Regions from separate parts of the Homo sapiens genome. Here all the other regions are linked to region 1. The links are contacts of gene promoters, found by promoter capture Hi-C in blood cells and fetal thymus (Javierre and others, 2016). All regions are on one chromosome and are shown on one strand. The core of a region is centred on a gene start or on the middle of the fragment in contact, and the rest is flanking DNA. Distances in the headings are between cores, read along the strand shown. Region 1 holds the start of ECT2 (epithelial cell transforming 2). Region 2 has its middle 13 kb from the start of RPL22L1. Region 3 overlaps EIF5A2 (eukaryotic translation initiation factor 5A2). Region 4 overlaps TNIK (TRAF2 and NCK interacting kinase). Region 5 holds the start of TNIK (TRAF2 and NCK interacting kinase).

Region 1 (3,881 bases), core at 1,003-3,502:
TGTCTTGTCACACCTATATTCTCAGTGCTAGCATAGTACCTAATGGGTGCTTAATAGTTATTAAATGAATAAACTATGATTAGGTTAATCAGGACATCCAGTCTCTCAAACATTATGAATGAACTTGGATCTAGCTCATTCACTCTCGAAATATTTATTTGGTACCTACATGTGAAGATTCCTGTGTTTATTAGAGAGCAATGTGTAACATTTGCCTTTGCAGTACTAGCTTTTTGAAAATACCTGAAGATGAGGGATCATGTTTTACTTTACCAGACACCAGCCCTCTGCTAGGTGCAATTAAGTGGCATATGATCACCTATGCACACGATTATCTGAAATACTCCTCTCCACATTGCTTTCTTTGAGCCTGCAGACAGATCTATACTAGACTTTATTTACACTCATCTATTATTTCTGGGTTCTAATGCGGGCTAAAATATTTATTAGGAGACACTGGGTAAGTTACTTAAACCTTTCCTACAGTTTCATGGTATCATGGGACTATGATACCTACTTGTGGGTTGTTTTAAGGATTAAATAAGGTATAAAGTGCATAGTAAAGTATCAGTATGTTCATTCTCTTTCTTCTCTCCCTTATACTGTAATTATCTGTTTATCTGCTAATTTCCCTCACCAGATTGTGTGGTCCAGACAGGCAGTTTTCTATGCCTTATTCATCTTTATAACCCCAACAAGCACAATGGCTGTCTTAAAATTAGTAAATATTTGCTGAGTAAATGAAGACCTAAGAGAGTGAAAAAGGTTGTATTACCCGTTTATTTGTTAATCTAACTGCCACACATCCCTTAAAAGAAATCAAGTACAGCTTTTGTTAGGGAAGCTTAAAATTCATGGCAATGATACCATACACAGTTAATCATTAGCTTTGGAAAGTCTGTTGAGCAGAAAGCGGTGCACAAAGGAAGTAGGGCTGCTTCCCACAATAGCTTAATATGTTTTCAGTGATGAACGTTTTTGGAATGCTGGGCACACCCGACTTCCAAATACGCAAGCACATTCCAAATGGAAATTTCAATTACTGTTTTTCTTTTTTTCTGCCGTAACAGTTATCACAGCATTTTAATGAAGGTCAGACTTAAATACTGACAAGCAGGGAAACCAATAATTACCAGATTGCTTCATTCATTTTGTGGACAGCATTATAAACTTTTCAGGCATTCTAAGATTGCCTGACAAAATTAGAAAAAATTGTTAAGTCCCCACAACCTGCTTGAGATGCTCACAAGTGTTCCATCCCAAAGTACACGTTTGCCTCTTCTTATTGGTATTTAGGTTCTGGCATCTGATTCCCCTTTCTTCTTCTATTTATATTAGCCTTCAGGTGGGAACTATGGAAAACCCACCTGGTGGGGGTGTATTTTTCTTAAGAGATTGTGTTATATGGTATCATATTTAGAAAATAAAGAAATTATTTTCATAATAGCAACGCTAATCACAGGAAAAACTTGATACATTCTTGACTAGACTTTAGGGGAAAGTACAAGTTCTTAGTGGGCGGAGGGGGGCAAAGACGAAGCAATTTGGCTCCAAAAATTCTAGAATCTCGTGGCATATTTTTATCAAATTCAAGCTTATCTTTAAAAAAATCCGAGAATTTTTCTAATTTCTAAGAATTGATTCTAACCCGCGATACTCCCTAGATGGGAGCGCAGTGCTTTAAATAATAGCATTTAAATAAGCGGCTGCTGATTTGAAGTCCACCTGGGGAGTCCGAGTTCTAGGACCGGTCCTTGGCCCTGCCACACGCCAATACAACCATCAAAGTCAAAATCCCTTAACTCAAATTTAAATACATTCCTAAAGCAGAAAGCATCCCGATAGGAAAATCCTACAGCTCACAGCAAGCAGCAGGGAAACATTTATCTCTGGCGGCACTGATTTAAGCTTAAAAGATTTGGTATCGTTTAAAAAAAAAAAAAAGCTGGGTGGGGCCGAGGAGAATCCACCCAAACTTTCCTCAGGAAGTAGGATGTTTACTGAGTAAATATGCGGTAGTCACAGAAACACCTGCTACTCCTTTAAGACCTCAGGAGCCACCACCGCCACCTCCTGGCCACATCCGGGCACTTCTCTGCAAACTCCTGGCGTCCCGACGCCCGAGTCGTTGGGCTTATTTGAAACACACGCACAACCAATCAAGCGGCGCCTGCCGGGACTTGGAGAGCGTCGACCAATCACCGCCCCTCTGGAGACTCCTGCCTATGGGAAAGAGGTTGACATCACGCGCCAATCGGCATGGCTCTTAGAGAGAGCAGCTTAGTTTTTGAATCGGTTGTGGCGGCCGCCGGCGAGGAATGGCGGTATTTGTGAGAGGAGTCGGCGTTTGAAGAGGTGGAACTCCTAGGGCTTTTTTGAGAGTGGTAAGGACTCTGTGTGAGTGAGAGAGGTGCAAGTGGGCGAGCGGCTCCAGAGCCAAGGGCTCTTTTGCCTGCGGTCGACGTCCCCGCCCCTAGTGACCGCGAATTCCGGAGCGCCCCAGCTCAGGCTTCCCGGATCCGGGAACTCCCTCGCCGCACCCCACCCCCAGCAGCCGGGCCCTGACGCGGAGTGGGAGACCGAAGCCCCCAGTATTGCTGGGCATCTTCGCCCTCACCTGTTGGCTCTTTTGGACAGAAGAGTGTGGGTGAAGGGAGGGAGTTGGGAAAGGGATTTTGGCAAGCCGCGCAGCCCTGTGGCTTTGGGGGCCGGCACTTGCAGCCTTTGGGGGCTTATCTCAGAGTGCGCCGTGGTTTTATTCTAGGATTCATCCTGGCTTCTTTGCGGGAAGTTTAATTTTTCGTTTTTGCAAGATAAATCCAGGCCATCCGCCCCTCGTCCTCCCCAGCCACCCGGCACAGATGTGTCCGGCTTAGTGGTTAAAGGCGCAGCCTCTGGATTTAGCCGGGCTTTGAATACCTCTTTTACCCCTTACTAACAGTTTGACTTAGGGGAAGTTGCTTAACCTCTCTGTTCCTACGTTTCTTCATCCATACATTGAAAATAATAATAGTACCTGCCTCTTAGGATTACTGCAGAGATTAAAAGGTTTAGGACAATGTCTGCCACGTATTAAGCGTTAAGTAAATGTCAGTTGTTAATAGTAATGTTATTGTTAATAACACCACCATTATATCTTGGATTGCATTTTAGTCCTTCACCTTGGAAGATGATTGCCTAAAAAGTATTTAAGTAAAAGGAAACTTGAATGTTTGTTTACATGGCAAATTTTATCTCTGGGATAAAAGGGGGCATGTGTTATAGTGTGTTTAGTTAGAAGCTCCTTGGGTCTGTTCTTGGGTGAGAAGCTGTGTAGGTTTATGAACACTGATCCTATTGTGCTTATTTTAAAGGCTTCTGGAATACAGTAATTTGAAAAAAAGTGATTAATATATTTCCATTTCTAATCTGACTGTTGGATGTTAGTTATGTCATCAAGTTACCGTAGTGCATCTCTTTTTCTCTATACATTTTGAAGCTGTTTTGGCAATAAATTGATCATATACAGTATCATCAGGGGCAATTTTAATTATTAATCATCTGCTTTCGATCATCTGCTATGCTCCCTCCCTTTTATTAATCATCTGCTTTTGATCATTTGCTGTGCTCCCTCTTAAAGAGGGAGGCATAGGAGAAAAATGTAAATATTTTCAAGAAGTTTTTTTTTTTTTTTTAGACGGAGTCTACCTCTTGTTACCTAGACTGGAGTGCAGTGGCACGATCTCGGCTCACTGCAACCTCTGCCTCCCGGGTTCAAGCGATTCTCCTGCCTCAGCCTCCTGAGTAGCTGGGATTACAGGTGCCTGCCACCAAGCCCAGCTAATTTTTGTATTTTTAGTAGAGACGGGGTTTCATTGTGTTGGCCAGGCTGGTCTCGAACT
Region 2 (3,881 bases), core at 915-3,414, 1.9 Mb before region 1:
AAAGCATTTTGTAATATCTCTATTACTGCATGAACCACACTTACCTAAAGTCATTTGTACCCACATTTGCTCCCCTCGTTAGAACTGGGATTTCCTTGAGTGCAGAGAGTATATATAACTCACCCATCATCTCCCATGACTGCGACTGCCAAGGCAGAAATCATTGACCATATATTTGTGACATGTATGGAATCTGTAATTCACACCTCCCCATCTCAGAGAAAGAGGGAGAGAGGAGTTGCAGTGTTCCCTCCCTTGGGAGAAAACATATCTATTCCATCATAATTGAGATAGCAGATCATGATTCCCAGTTTGGCTCATTAACTCATAGGATTTTAGGACAGAAAAAAAAAGCCTTATCATGGGGGAAGTATGTTACTCTCAAGAAGCTTGTGTGTATCATGAGGTCAGGAGACCGAGACCATCCTGGCCAACCTGGTGAAACCCTATCTCTACTAAAATACAAAAAATTAGCCAGGTGTGGTGGTGTGGGCCTGTAATCCCAGCTACTCAGGAGGCTGAGGCAGGAGAATCGCTTGAACCTGGGAGGCGGAAGTTGCAGTGAGCCGAGATTGCGCCACTGCACCCCAGCCTGGCGACACAGCAAGACTCCGTCTCAAAAAAAAAAAAAAAAAAAAAAAAAAAAAGGTATATCCAATATTATGAGTTTATAGTGGGAAAATTATCCCAAAAATCTTACTTTGTTTTGTTTCAGAATAGAAAGCCCCAAAATACCTTGGTTGGTGGGGATATTTATGCATCAGTTATATCACAGGGTGGCAATTGGAACTGGGAACAAGGAACATGAGAAATATCTGTGTTTATCAAAAGGAAGCAGGTGTTACTAAAGCCCGAGAAATGCTGACCTATTTTTAACCACTTCTTTATATACAGAAGGGGAAACTGAGGCCCAGAGGGTGAAGAGATGTGTCCAAGGTCACAAAGCTAGTAGGCAACAGAGAGGCAGGATGTGTGACATGGCCCCGTGTGTGGGAGGAGCACTGGGTGAGGAGTGAGAGGTGGGTGCCATGGTGTGACCATGGGCAAGCCAGTAAACCTGAGACCTGGTTTTTTCATCTGAAAAATGGGAAGATAATATTGTGCCACAGAGGGCTGTTAAGGGATCAAAAGAAAAGAGAAAGCCATTTGTAAATGCAACACATTGTTTAAAACTGGCCTTCCTGGCATTTTAATCATCCAGCTTGTAAAAGAGCACACACTGAAGCTATATATCTAGACTCCAGTCCCTTCAGCATGACCACATACAAGGGTTTCCAGACAGTAAGTAGGAAAACCTATGCTAAGCAAAACTTCCTGGGAACTTTTTCATCAGGGGTAATGGTATAGGTGGGTAGTCACATGGGAAAAAGGTATAATTGGATCCACTTCTCAAATTGTAAACCAGGATAAATTCCAAATAGAATAGAGACCTACATTTTTTTAAGATGAAAATATGTAAGTACTAGCAGAAAACATAAATGAATTCTTGATAACGGGGAAAGCTTTTCTAACCATGGCAATAAGAAAAAAGTTAATTGATTTAATTACATAAAAATAAAAATAATGCTTCTATAGCAACAACTACAACAAAACAAAATGAAAACTAGTAATAAAACAAAAGAAAAATAGCAGCTGGGTATGGTGGCTCACACCTGCAATAATAGCACTTTGGGAGGCTCAGGCAGGAGGATTGTTTGAACTCAGGAATTCAAGACCAGCCTGAGCAATATAGCAAGACCCCATCTCTACCCAAATTTTTTAAAAAATGAGCCAGGTAGTGGTGTGTGCCTGTAGTCTCAGCTACTCAGGAGACTGAGGTGGGAGGATGGCTTGAATCTACGAAGTCAAGGACGCAGTGAGCCATGATCCAGCCTAGGCAACAGAGCAAGGGCTTGTCTCAAAAAAAAGTTAAAAAACAAAAATACCATAAGTAGGGGAAAAAGACAAATGAGAAGCTGAAAAAAGAAATTGTAATTTACATCACACACAAGGAGTTAATAGCCTTAACATAGAGGGAGCTTCTAAAAGTAAAAAATTAAAAATAAAAACAAGAATTCCACAGATATATATTAGAGATATAAACAGGCAGCTCACAGAGAAAGATATGCAAATGACCCTTATTGACATTCAACCTCACTCACAAATACAATGCAAAGGAAAATTACCCTGAAAACCAGGTCTCACCTGTCAGTTAAGCCTCAAATTGGACAAGGTTATCTCTTGGTGTGTCTACAGGAAAACAGATTTCACAGATTGCTGGTGGGAAGGCTAGTGGGAGAGCAAAATGCTACAACCCCTGTAAAGGGAAATTCAGCAATATCTAGAAATTACACATTCATTTATCTTTTGACCTGTAAGTCTCAGGTTTACAACTCCTCTCTAGGGGCTGGGCACGGTGGCTCATACCTGTAATCCCAGCACTTTGGGAGGCCAAGGCGGGTGGATCACAGGTTCAGGAGTTCGAGGCCAGCCTGGCCAATATAGTGAAACCCCTTCTCTACTAAAAATACAAAAATTAGCCGGGTGTGGTGGCAGGAGCTGGTAGTCCCAGCTACCCAGGAGGCTGAGGCAGGAGAATTGCTTGAACCCAGGAGGCAGAGGTTGCAGTGAACTGAGATTGTACCACTGCACTCCAGCCTGGGTAACAGAGCGAGACTCTGTCTCAAAAAAAAAAAAAAGACAGAGAAACTAGACTTTTCTAAATATACTTTGTTTTGTAGATTGGACTTTAGAATCCTGTAAATATTTTACAGAATTATAAAAAACAAAGTGGGCTTAAGCAAACTTTTTAATCAAAAGCAAAATGAAACAAATGACTCTGTGTATCAAGCTTGTTCTACGCCCACACAGAGATGAATCATTTCTAGTGACTTTAAAACACGAAACTTTGTTCATTTCTAGTGGGATATACCATAAGGACAAAAAGAACTGCAAAACAATCTTAAGCTGTAAAGTCATTATATTATAGGTAGTTTTGTTGGTATTATTTTATTGAAACTATTATGTGTATATTGTGAGATAAAGCAAATGAGCATTTGTGTTGGTGTCATTGAGAACTGGAACTTTCAGCATGGGAAAAAAGAGATATGGTCATACAATTGATGAAATAAAAACTCTTTTATCCTGATTTTGAATTGGAAGCATCAGAATAAACATATCATTTCCTCTTAAGAACAAAAATGTATTCCTTCACTCTGTCCACTCAAAAGGCCTAGAAACAAACACCACCCCAGTAATGACAAGCATCTCCAGCACCTAGAAAATAGTCCAGAGCTCCTTGTAGAAATGGATGACTCCTGGCCAGGCACACTGGCTGACCCCTGTAATCCCAGCACTTTGGGAGGCCAAGGTAGGAGGATCACTTGAAGTCAGGAGTTCAAGCCCAGCCTGGCCAACATGGCGAAACCACGTCTCTACTAAAAATACAAAAGTTAGCCAGGCATGGTGGCACATGCCTGTAGTCCCAGATACTCAGGAGGCTGAGGCAGGAGAATCACTTGAACCTGGGAGGCGGAGGTTGCAGTGAGCCAAGATCGCGCCACTGCACTTAGCCTGGGTGATAGAGCAAGACTCTGTCTCAAAAAAACAAGCAAACAACAACAACAAAAAAACGGATGACTCCAGATCTGAGGCAGGAAATTTGGAAGAGCCTAGCACATCCTATTATACCAGAAACCAAATAAGCAATAAAATCCAAATAAGATCATGCCAAAAGGATACAAGAGTCAACCTGAAGAGGCTCCTATTGGCTCAGTATGAGACCATTTGCATATTAGTAAGTGTAACTACCAAAACTAATAAAACAAAAGAACTGCCAGACTGCCCGAAGAAACCTACAAAGGGGCCTCTTATAGTGACTTCAGTTTTATGGGATAATTGTA
Region 3 (3,881 bases), core at 828-3,327, 1.9 Mb before region 1:
CCCAGCACAATCTGAAAACAATTAAAAAAAGAAATGAGGTTGCTTATGAAGGCTATAGCTTTGGTGACAACTTAGAACCAAATTAGATCTGCAGTTGATTCAGACATAAACAGTGTTCATGCCTGATGTTTCCGTTTATTTGCAGGGTTTTATGGCTACAGCATATTCTTCACTCATTGCACACATGACAGACACCTAGAAGGAAAAAAGCAGGCAAAACGTTATTCAGAAGACAATACATATAGAAGATATAATTAGTTCCTCATATATTGTATATTTGTGGATATTTTGTACATATGGACTTCTGAAAGGGGTATTCCAAAACAAGCTACTTTCTTTACAGTTTTCTAAAGCAGAATTTCTCAGAGTGGTTTGTAAGACAACTTCCAGGGAACAGGAAAAATAACTATAAATGTTTGAACACTTACTACCCGTTACATTTCTGAAAGTTGTAACGAAGACAGTAAATCTCCTTCACTCTTTAACATTCCACTAGCATCATTTCTTACCTGTAAGAATAGCTCAGGGCTGGGCGCCTTGCTCAGGCCTGTAATCCCAGCACTTTTGGGAGGCCAAGGTTGGGGGATCACCTGAGGTCAGGAGTTCAAAACCAGCTTGGCCAACATGCTGAAACCCAATCTTTACTAAAAATACAAAAATTAGCCAGATGTGGTGGCACGCGCCTGCAATCCCAGCTACTCAGGAGGCTGAGGGGAGAATCGCTTGAACCTGGGACGCGGAGGTTGCAATGAGCCGAGATCACGCCACTGCACTCCAGCCTGGGTGACAGAGGGAGACTCCGTCTCAAAAAAAAAAAAAAAGTCAGGTGCAGAGCTTCAAAACAAATTTGGGTTTGAGAGTAATGCTGATGTAGCAAAAATGAACTTTGATACTTTCTTTGATAATGAGTCTCTAAGGGTTTTATGGAAAACCTGCCTGAGAGATCATTTTCAACATTTTAGCAGTATTTTTAAACCACATTCCATATGTAGTATTTTATGTTAACTAGTTGAGGTCAAAGTTTTTATAAAATGGTTTTCAAAAATAATCCTTCTCTAAGTCTTTACCTGTACATCTTCACCTGCATTGTATTTTCCCTCTATTTCTTTGCCTAGTTCACCTTCTGGCAGTTTAAGATCCTCACGAACTTCACCAGTTTCTGTCAGCAGGGAAAGGTAACCATCTTGAATGCATATCAGCTATTAGAAGAAATTATATCATTTGTGCTGATTAGATTATATCCACTTCTGTGTAATGCTTACATAGTTAAATTGCAATTGATATTAATTCATATAAGTATACAGTAATATATTAATATTCTTGGTATTTAAAATGCTAAAAATATAAAAAATATAAAATATGTACAGAATGGAAATATAAGTTTACTCCTCCCGGTACTTCCCATACCCAATCTCTGCCTTGTTAAACAGTTTAGGTTTCTTTATAGTGTATTCCATTTATGTTCACAAAATAAATATAGTTGCTGTTTTGTTTTTTTTTTTAATCAAAATGGGATATTGGGCCAAGTGCGGTGGCTCACGCCTGTAATCCCAGCACTTTGGGAGGCCGAGGCGGGCGGATCATGAGGTCAGGAGATTGAGACCATCCTGGCTAACACGGTGAAACCCCATCTCTACTAAAAATACAAAAAATTAGCCAGGTGTGGTGGCAGACACCTGTAGTCCCATCTACTTGGGAGGCTGAGGCAGGAGAATGGCGTGAACCCAGGAGGTGGAGCTTGCGGTGAGCCAAGATCGTGCCCCTGCACTCCAGCCTGGGCGACAGAGCGAGACTCTGTCTCAAAAAAAAAAAAAAAAAAAAAAGAGATATTATAAGTACTTTACAGTGAGCTGTTTTGACTTAATAATATGTCTTATAAATACTTTCTAAGCAGAAAATGTAAACCTACCTTAGTTAACTACCACATATCTGCATGGACATACTATTACTGATTTAACCAATTTCACATTACTGGGCATAAAAGTTATTTTTGCTATTACAAACAATGCATTTTCTAATTTGAGTATGAACAAAATTAAGTGGAAAACTTTTGGTCTTCAGTCAACAACAACAACAACAACAAAATCCACTAGTGTATGGATAACATTAGTGAAAAAAAAAAACCCAGTTGTCAACCCAACCTGCAAAAAAGCACGGTTTTGATACCACTGAACTTCTTTTACTACAGGAATGAGTAAACAACCAACCTCCACTCATTTATTCTATTAATAAAAGCATGTACACTATTAGTATGCCTCGAATCCTAACATGTTTTATAAAAGGCTACCATCCAGAATACCAGCTACTAATATCTACAAAAGGAGTCAAAGACAATGGTCCTTGAACCCCTGTAACCACTATGATATAACCCAGGCATATCGTTGGGATTGCTCTCCTCCACATACACCATCTACCAAAACTGCCTATGGCTCTCCACAGAAACTCCATCTATCACAGGAAATTTGAGTTTTTATATGTCTAGAAATCTCAAAAATAAGAAATCCTACAGAGCTACAACAAAGACTTTTAACTAACCTCTTAGACCCTCAAATATTTGTGAGGTGGCTGGTAGAGAAGTGGGAGCAAGGAGGTTGAGGTAGAAGTGTAACTTTTTAAAAAATATATATATTTTTAAAGATGGGCGTCTCATTATATTGCCTAGGCTGGCCTCGAACTCCTGGGGTCAAGTGAGCCTCTGCTTTAGCCTTCCAAGGAGCTGGGACTATAGGTGTGCACCAATGCACCTAGCTTGAAGTGTAATTTTTAAACAACCACAACATTCCAAGACAAATCTTTCTGATTTCTGTTCTTTTAGTAATTCCCTAAAGCACAGCTTGTCTATTTCAAGAGTTAAATGTTCGTACTGTGCCACTAGTGACTGAAACACAGAAGCCAAATAATAATACTGATATTTTGAAAATGATGTATGTAATGGAGCTATTTTATTTTTTAAGAGTTAAGAATCATAAACTGTGGAATGAAATATATAAAGCATTTCAGATGTACAAATATATAAAACATCTAGTAAAACAATGCATTTACAAACATTAAACATTAAGATAAATTGCTATATTAAATACAATTAGTTTTCAAAAATAAAACTAAGCTACGAAAAACAAAAATAATGAGAATGAATTATTTAATCTTTGATATGGTTTGGCTCTGTGTCCCCACCCAAATCTCATCTTGAATTGTAATCCCCACATGTCGAGGGAGGGAGCTGGTGGGACGCAATTGGATCATGGGGTCAGTCTCCGCAATGCTGTTGTCATGATAGTGAGTGAGTTCTCTTCAAAGTGTTTAGCAGTTCCCCCCTCACTTGCTGTATCTCCTGCTGCCATGTAAGATGTGCCTTGCTTCCCCTTCGCCTTCTGCCGTGGTTCCTGAGGCCTCCATAGCCATGTGGAACTGTGACTCAATTAAATTTCTTTTCTTTATAAATTACCCAGTCTCAGGTAGTTCTTTATAGCAGTGTGAAAAAGGACTAATACAGAAAATTGGTACCAGGAGTTTGGGCCACTGCTATAAAGATGCCTGAAAATAAGGAAACAACTTTGGAACTGGGTAACAGGCAGAGACTGCAACAGTTTAGAGGGCTCAGAAGAAAGAAAGATGAGGGAGAATTTGAAACTTCCTAGAGACTTGTTGAATGGATTTGAACAAAATGCTGACAATGATATGGACAGTGAAGTCCAGGCTGAGGTGGTTTCAGATGGAGATGAGGAACTCACTGGGAACTGGAACAAAGGTCACTCCTGCCGTGCTTTAGCAAAGAGACTGGCAGCATTTTGCCCTGCCCTAGAGATCTGTGGAACTATGAACTTGAGAGAGATGATTTAGGTTACCTGGCATAAGAAATTTCTAAGCAGCAAAGTGTGCAA
Region 4 (3,881 bases), core at 865-3,364, 1.5 Mb before region 1:
CTATGACATCACATGTGTGTAGAAAATAGCAGGATATGCAATTGGAGAAGACAAAGTCCCAATGAAGAACAGCTTCCTGTGTCACGTAAGGAGTACGATGTTAAAGAGTTTACACTTGGGAGTTACAAGATCAGACTGGATTCCAGAAAGGTCACCCTGTCACCATCTTCCCCACTCCTTGCCCACCTTCCTACCCGCTACCACTCAGATCCAGGATTGCAGTTCATCTGTCCTCTACCAAGATTTGGAGATGATTAATCCAGTCAGGATCTGAAACAAAGGCTGGCAGTGAAAAGAGAATAGATCCAAAGAATAAATAAGTAGAATCAACAGGACATGTAGATGGTGTTTTGGAGAATTGAAAGAGAAACAGAAGTCCTCCAGGAAGATAACATCTCTGGCTTGTACAATCTAGGTGGGTAAGAGTGCCATTCTTTGAGACAGAAGACTCGGGAAAACATGAAGAAGGCAGGAAGTGACTTCAGTCAAGGACATAACAAGGTTTTCGGGGGCCGGGTAGACATCCAGACAGATGTGTCCATTAGTCCAGTGGAGAAGACTGGGCTTCAGGAGGTCAAGTCAGTCTACAGAGACAGAAGGACTTGCAATGAACCCCAAGAAAAAACAACCAGCGGGTGGGAAAAAAGAAAGCAGCAATATGACTGCAAATCAAGGAAAGAGAAAGTTTCAGGAAGGAGGATGTGATGAGTTTCAAAAAGGAGGGTATGGTCAGAGCCAGTGCTACAGAAGACCAAGTGAAATAAAGACTAAAAAGAGCTCATTCAATCTGGCAATTATGAAGCCCCTGGGACCTTACACAGCAATGCAGGGACAGACATCAGTTTGTATAGAGTGAAGGAAAAAATGGGAGGTGACTATGTGGAGGCAAAGAGGGTAGAAAAAAGTTGCTTGGTCTGAAAAGAGATGAAACTAGTCCTGAGGTCTCGCTGAAGATGACTGCAGGCTGGGAGGAAAGGGGCAATTCTGGGCAAGGGAGGAGACAACAGAAACAGCAGGAGGAGTCCTCTCACACAGAGGGAAAAGCTTTACATTGAGTTAGGATGAAAGAAGGTAAGAATGTGGGAAGAAGATGAGTTTGAGAAGAAAGGCAGAGGGAGACCTGTGGGATATTTACCCAATAAGGGATACCTGTCCAATGGCTCCAGTTTTTCTAAAAGGCATAGAAGAAGGTCACCTGTGGAGAACAATGAAGGCAGGGGCAGCGGAAGGGAGGAGAGGAGAGTGGTGGAGATTGGGAGCAACTATTCCAGGGAAAACAGGAGAAGGAACTGAGCAGGTACATACACAGTTGATTATTAAGCAGTGCTGAGTTGAGCTGTGCAGCCCAAATGCAGAAAAATAAACAGCTAGACTGACCTTAGGGAAGGGGTCTGCAAGGTGGATATTATGGAAGAACAAAGGATAAAGGAGATAGTACATGTTGGCTAAAAATGATTAAACTAAGAAATCATGAGGCCCAAGGCTGGAGAGACAAGTTATTAAAGTTTCATGGGGACTGAGAGACTGACAAAAGACCCGAGGGCTTAGTCAACATCAAAGAACAGGTGTGTAGGGTGTGAGGGAGTACAGGCTGGAAGCATCAAAGGCTGTGGTCTAAGATTGGGATGCTGTACATTTAAGATTTTAAAAGCAAAACAGACCTGGGTCATAAAAAGTCCAGGTTGTGAATAATAAGAGTGGGGTGTCATTCCAGGTAATAGCAATATAACTATAGTATCAATATTATACCATTTTACAAGTGAGACAAGGACTAGATGACTTATTCAACATCACAGCTGGTTAATGGCAAGGCTAAAGTTTCAATCCAAGTCTTTGCTGCCAAGTCTTATTGACCTTGTCATACAAAATCATTTTACTTGGTACCTTTTTCTTTCAGCCTTTGAATAAGAAATAATAAAATGGTGATTTTGCTTTCAGACTAGGACGACGTTATAAATGAAAGAAAGCTATCAATCTGACTTAAAATGCAAGTGAAAGTAACGGTTTTATTTTCAGAACTCTGGTTATTACCCATAGTGTAGGAGCTTATGAAATTCTGTTAAAGTGTATCTTTGCATACTGTTTTCTTATTATAGAAACATTAAAAGTAACTAGCTATTGAACATGGCAACAAAAATAGTTAAGAACCACTTTATCTCATAAAACATAAATTTCAGCCTCCAGTGGCATGTCTGCTATTATTTCATAATTCTGGGTCCCACTCCCTATTAAGTCCAAGGCTGTGTCAGGATGATTTAGGAAGATAAAGCAATGTTACACCACATATTTTCAACCCAGGTACCTTTAGGCATACATCCAAATGTGAATATCAGATCTGTACAAATGTAAATGGAGTTGTCATTTTCTTTGATTAAGAATCACTCAGGCTCTCCATCACCATTACTAGACAAGACAGAGTGGCCTGCTGCCAACTTAAGGGGGCTGGAGGGATGGGGCAGTGGTGTGGAAATGGCAAATTAGGGGCCTCCTGCAGTGAGTTACTGCTCACCAGTCCTGGGCAGCCCTTAGGACATTATACATTAAGACACATATTCAAATGGAATGATGGTGGTACACATCAGCATAATTCACCTCAAATAATTCATTACAAAAAGACAAATGAACAAATGTCAAATTTGCTGCCTATGATATTAGCTATTACTGTCTTGTACGATATATATTAAGTGAGGAGCCTGCAGGAAAGCATATACAGTTATTCCATAGCTATTTATTTCATCCACTCTTGAGGCAAGTAGCGTCTTTCCCTGTCAGTTGGAACCAATCCAACCCACCCAACCCAACCTACCTAGACTCCCTAACTGTTCCTAGCTATCCTGGTTTCTTACTGAGCTAGTAACTAATAGTTTGCTTTTACTGTATATCAACTTGTCAGGCTAAGGTTTTACATGATTACTATTTAATCCCCACATTGCCCATGTGAAGTAGGTGCTACTACCACCCCCATTATACTAATGAAGAGAGCAAAGCACAGTCCCAAAGTCAGCCAGCTGGTAAGGCCAAGCTCTTAGCGATGCCTGCATGCTTCTGCCTTTGTTACTCCGCCTTTCAAATTTCACCCAACTTCTGCTCTATAGCTTGATGGCACATGTTCAGGAAGAATTCCCATTTACTTCAGTCCATACTGATTACTCCCTTCTCAGAAGTAGCTCATCCATACCTGGATGGAAGCTTTGCTTTCTGGTAATGCCAGCACCCTCTAATTTTCATGGGACAGGCCTTGGAGAGACTGACCCAGTCTTGTTTGCCTGGGAAAATGGTGTTGATGGATGGACAGCTTCTTTGTGGTAGTGAGATTTGGGTTAAATAGCTCCAGTACCTTAAAAATTCCAAGATGTAACCTAAGCCCTAGTCCCCCAAAATATTCAGAAACAGGGATTCCTAGAAATCTAAATCATGCCCTTTAAAAATTTCGTGTCCAAACCTGATAGACTTAAAAAATTAGAAATGAAGAATATTAGAGACATTCATGTCCACTGATATTAACCCCTTCCATCCTACTTCTCTAAAGCCATGCAGCTAGCTCAGAGAAAAGTAGGAACTCCAACTCCTTCAGCTGTGGGAGGTGGGAACAACACAGGCCCTGTGGTCAGATACCTTCAGTTCTGTCACTCACTGGCTGTGTGACCATGAGGAAATCATTCAGATCTCTTTAGATCTCAGTTTCCACACTAAAATCAGAGAAATGATACTTAAGGCCGTTATAAGAACTAAAATAGCTAATGTGAAAGTTTTGTAAACCATATAGTGCTCTAAAAATGCTACAAACTTCCATTATTATTCTACATTTGGGATTTCTGACTTTCATGACAGAGATTTGTTTTTATCTTGCAATCCTCTGCTGCAACAATTATCAATTGATG
Region 5 (3,881 bases), core at 559-3,058, 1.3 Mb before region 1:
CCATGTGTCCTAGGTGATTTCAGACAGTCGTTTGCCTGCAGAGTAGGCATTGAACCAGGGCTGGACAAGATGAATTCCAAAGGTGGCCTAGAGCTCCATGGTTTCATGTATCACAAGCTTACTTGCATGAAGTAGTTTCGCCATTCTCAATAAATAAAATTCCCTGACCCTGGTGAAATTATTCCTTTCTGCTATTCTTTTGTACTCAGGCAGAAAATGTATTATTGATTTCTGATTCCACCACAGAAAGTGTGACTTAGAGAAAAGAGCACTGAATGAGGAGTCAGGAAATCTAGATTATTTCCTCAAACCACGCTCCTCGCTGTCCCCTCCCCTTGTTACTGTGTGACCTTGAACAACTTACTTCACGCCTCTGGGCTTCAGTTTCCCAAGTGTTCAATGAAAGGAGTGGCTGAGTGTTCTACAATTCTCTTTCCAGCTCTGAATCTATAAAACAATTCCAGCCCATCCCTCAAGATTTAGTTTATCTCTGAGCTCTAAAAATCAGGGCTAAAACTGGATTCAAAGTACCTATTTTCTAACCAAAGAAGATCCTGCTTCACTCACTTTTAAACCATGCAAATCTTGCATAATTTAAATGATCAGTGCTGTCATTGGTTGCTCTGGTTTAAATTATGCATTGTTGCTATTTGGGGAAAATTTAGACTGGGTCCGGTCTGGAATCACTGGCTGAGAACAATAAGCCCCCAAAGTGAGAAGGATAAAGGCCTCTCTAGACAGGATCTGCTTTTAATGCTTTGAGCCCAGGGTTTACAAAAAGAGCATTGACTGTGTACATTAAAGAGCCACCGAAACAGCGAGGGACTGGTAAGTCTGCAGCAAATTCTCCCAGAAGCCACTGACCTTGGCTGCATTTCAGGGGTCAGGCATTCCCCAGGAGGGGCTCAGCAGGCAGACTTTACCAAGGGCTTAGGAACAAATGAGACATCTCATCTAGATGAGGCCACCTCTCCAAATGTGGCAAGGTGGAGATGATCTGCCCTCTGATTTGTGGAGATTACCTATGTGGCCTTTGGACCCACTCCAGCAGACACACCTCACCCACAAGACTGGTCAAAGACCCTGGCCCTCCAGGATATAACTGTCTCCACATCTGCATCTAAGTCTTCTAGCCAGCAGTTCCTGGTCCCCAAGCTAGCTGTTGCCCTCTCTGTTTCCACACCTCCCAGCAGGCAGAAAAACAGAAGCAGAGCCCTAAGCTGATAGCCCAGGCCACAAAGAGCAATTTCAGTGAATTGTGCAAAGATATATTTTCAAAATACAGATCACAAGAAAGCACATCCCAAGTGTGAACCGCAGTCGTCCGCCCAGTGGGCCCTCACCGGTTGCTCCCCTGCCTGCAGGCTCCGTGCTTGGTATCTCAGAAAACCTTCCCGAGGAAAAAGCCCATAAGGGACAAGTCCCGGCCCAACTTAAAATCACATCAGACTGCTTTCCAGTAGAGGAGCAAGGTCGAGATTCCGGCCCAGGGAAATCACCGCAAGCCCTGCGCATTGTTCAGACCCCTTCCCCCTTTGCCACTTCCCGCCCCCCACCCCGACCTCCGACCGATTCGCAGCACCCCACCCCCAGTCGGGGCCATCCATCCACCTGATTAACTCGCCGGCAGCAACTCCCAGCGTAGAAAGTAGGGCAAATGAACACACACAGTCGGTAAAGCAGGAAGCCACAGACCTGGCCAATGCACCCACCCTGTTACCAACCCCACCCCGCTGCGCAGGGGGCAGCCGGTTCTTGATGTGGCATTTCCACTCCAGGGAAATAGACAGCTTCCTGTAATAATGCATGAATGAGCTTTGGCTGCCCAACTATCAGAACAGCCCATTTCAAACGGCATCTCTGTTTCTTCTCAACTCCTTACTTGCCTTGCTGAAACCTCATCTCTTAGCCCAACAGATTAAGACGAAGAGAGAAAGACTTATTCAAAGAGATGTGGAGGAAAAGGTTTAATTAAGGAGACCAAAGAGAAAGTACCACTTTGATCACAAAGGTAGCACTTTAATATATCAGTGCAGATAGCGGCAATGTCAGAAGTACTAGGAATCCAGGTAAATGGCCCCAAGATTCAGCATCAATCTAACAATGTATTCCTCAGGAGGGCGTGTGAACTTCCATGCTTCATCCATCCTGGTGTCTCCCTGTAGAGAGCCACCATGAATTCCTTCTCATCCACCCTCCATACATCAAGTATATGCACTCGCTTTCTTTTTAATTTTATTTTTGGTTCGGGAGAGGAAGAAGCAGTCCTTAAATTGGTGTCCAATCCTTCTCAGACACCCGCTGCTGCCACCATCCCCACCCCTCACCCCCTTCCAGGCAGGCAGCATCTAATTAAAATGGCAAGAAAGCTCTGCCCCCTTCCCCAAAGGAGTGTGTTGGGATCGGGAGTTGGGGGTGGGGAAGCGTCGAAGCAGCACTTGGATTCCTGGTATTCTGATCTCAAAACAACAGCAAAATGGATTCTATATCAGTGATGTCTTAGTCAATACAATGAAACGGCGTCTGAGGTAATTCACGTGAAGGTAAACGCAAACCAGTGGGGCTGGGGGGAGGGAGGTGCTCTACAAAGGACTGGCCACAGACACGGGGAAAACACACACAGACACACACACACACACACTCGCACACACTCCAGGGAGTTCCGGTCTGATTGAGGAAAAGCAGAAAACACATCCCTTTCACCTGCTTAAGTTCAGCCATAAAACTGAAACGTTACAGCCACAAAGTCAGAAAGAACAGGCAGGGCTGAGTTAAAGCCATAAATAAAGGTGAGTGGCAGACTGGCATTTAAGGGAGCGCTGAGAGGGCGCCCGGGCGCGGGAGGTAGAAAAGGGGGAGGGGGAGGCAGTTGCCATCTACAAGACCAGCATAGCAATAACTGCCCCCTTGGAGCGGCAGGTTCGGCTTCGCGGGGACAGCCAGCCTCACAATGTCATCTTGCAGGTAGCTGGAAAACGTGAGGGGCCAGTGCCTTTATTCACGCTGGCATTCTTTTTGCAGAAGGGACAGTCGGGTCTCGCGCCTTGGCACCAGACAACTGCCCGGGGCGTGTACACACACACACACACACACACACACACGCACACACGCCTTTCATTTTAATGCTCTTACACCGGTATAAGATGAAACTGGCATAAGCTCTACGAGCCCTCGGGAGAGCCTAAGCCACGGCCAGAGGAAGACACGTACCGCACAGCCCCTGCCGTAGGGGCTCAGCCAGGAGCACCTCAGCAACCCCGAATCAAAACGGGAATCCAGGTTCCCTCCCCGACGCATTCTCCCGCTGCTGTCCCCCTGCCCCAGCCCCAGCCCCCAGTCCACGCACCGAGCCCATTCACCCTAACCCAAACCACTGGAAAGAAACCAGAAAACGTCCTGCTCACCCTCAGAGCCGAGAGATCTATTTCATCCAGGCTTCGAGCCGGGGAGTCGCTCGCCATGTCTACTTCTTCGCTGGAGAAATGGACCAAAACCACCCCGAAGCTTTTCCCTTGGAAATTCCACCTTGGTCTATTTCACTCGCGTCCTCATGCGGGTGTCGCGCCAGAGGCCCCGGGCCCAGCCTCCCCCGCCCACCCCAGCCCCACAGCGCCGGATCCCGATCCTCCGCGCGTCGGTCCGCCGGGTCCGGGAGCCCAGCCTGCGCGGATCTCCAAGCCCCGAGCAGCGGTGCGTGTGGGCTGAGCGCCCCGATCGGCTAAGGGCGCTGGGGCTGCGTGGGTGTATTTAAATGGGACATGCTTCTTTGCTTGTGCGTGGATGGCGGCTGCATTGGCTGTTATAATGAGACACATCAACTCCTCCACTCAGCAGGGGGAGGGTGGGGGTGGAGAACCACGCAGAACTGTCTATCACCGCTT

Evidence for each region. Contacts are between HindIII fragments. The CHiCAGO score rates a contact against its expected background, and 5 or more counts as called.
Region 2: a fragment that was not itself captured here is called in contact with the fragment with the promoter of ECT2 in region 1 in 1 of 17 cell types (total CD4 T cells); the score reaches 5.2 in total CD4 T cells.
Region 3: a fragment that was not itself captured here is called in contact with the fragment with the promoter of ECT2 in region 1 in 1 of 17 cell types (total CD4 T cells); the score reaches 6.1 in total CD4 T cells.
Region 4: a contact is called between a fragment that was not itself captured here and the fragment with the promoter of ECT2 in region 1, in 1 of 17 cell types (total CD4 T cells). The highest score is 6.6, in total CD4 T cells.
Region 5: a contact is called between a fragment that was not itself captured here and the fragment with the promoter of ECT2 in region 1, in 2 of 17 cell types (fetal thymus and total CD8 T cells). The highest score is 7.9, in fetal thymus.

Annotation. Positions count from the first base shown.
Region 1 is chr3:172,748,474-172,752,354 of GRCh38, forward strand. ECT2 (epithelial cell transforming 2) reads left to right here and starts at 2,253. Exons shown (of 25, transcript NM_001258315.2): 1 at 2,253-2,384. RefSeq lists enhancers at 1,789-2,058, 2,159-2,208, 2,229-2,488 and a silencer at 2,599-2,668. The HindIII fragment of the contact is 5,304 bases long and covers 1,907-3,881 here.
Region 2 is chr3:170,854,883-170,858,763 of GRCh38, forward strand. No RefSeq gene overlaps it. Among named protein-coding and RNA genes, the nearest start is that of RPL22L1, 13 kb to the right of the region's middle. The HindIII fragment of the contact is 1,328 bases long and covers 1,501-2,828 here.
Region 3 is chr3:170,893,225-170,897,105 of GRCh38, forward strand. It overlaps EIF5A2 (eukaryotic translation initiation factor 5A2), which reads right to left. Exons shown (of 5, transcript NM_020390.6): 4 at 1,068-1,199; 5 at 1-195. The coding sequence ends at 136. Among named protein-coding and RNA genes, the nearest start is that of EIF5A2, 13 kb to the right of the region's middle. The HindIII fragment of the contact is 8,845 bases long and covers 1-3,881 here.
Region 4 is chr3:171,247,028-171,250,908 of GRCh38, forward strand. The region is part of intron 2 of TNIK (TRAF2 and NCK interacting kinase); the gene reads right to left. Among named protein-coding and RNA genes, the nearest start is that of MIR569, 140 kb to the left of the region's middle. The HindIII fragment of the contact is 2,145 bases long and covers 1,043-3,187 here.
Region 5 is chr3:171,456,603-171,460,483 of GRCh38, forward strand. TNIK (TRAF2 and NCK interacting kinase) reads right to left here and starts at 3,803. Exons shown (of 33, transcript NM_015028.4): 1 at 3,405-3,803. The coding sequence starts at 3,461. LOC124906303 (a long non-coding RNA gene) reads right to left here and starts at 1,569. Exons shown (of 2, transcript XR_007096168.1): 1 at 1,344-1,569. It overlaps LOC102724479 (a long non-coding RNA gene), which reads left to right and starts at 2,616. Exons shown (of 3, transcript NR_189068.1): 1 at 2,616-2,789. RefSeq lists a silencer at 3,433-3,492. The HindIII fragment of the contact is 3,387 bases long and covers 116-3,502 here.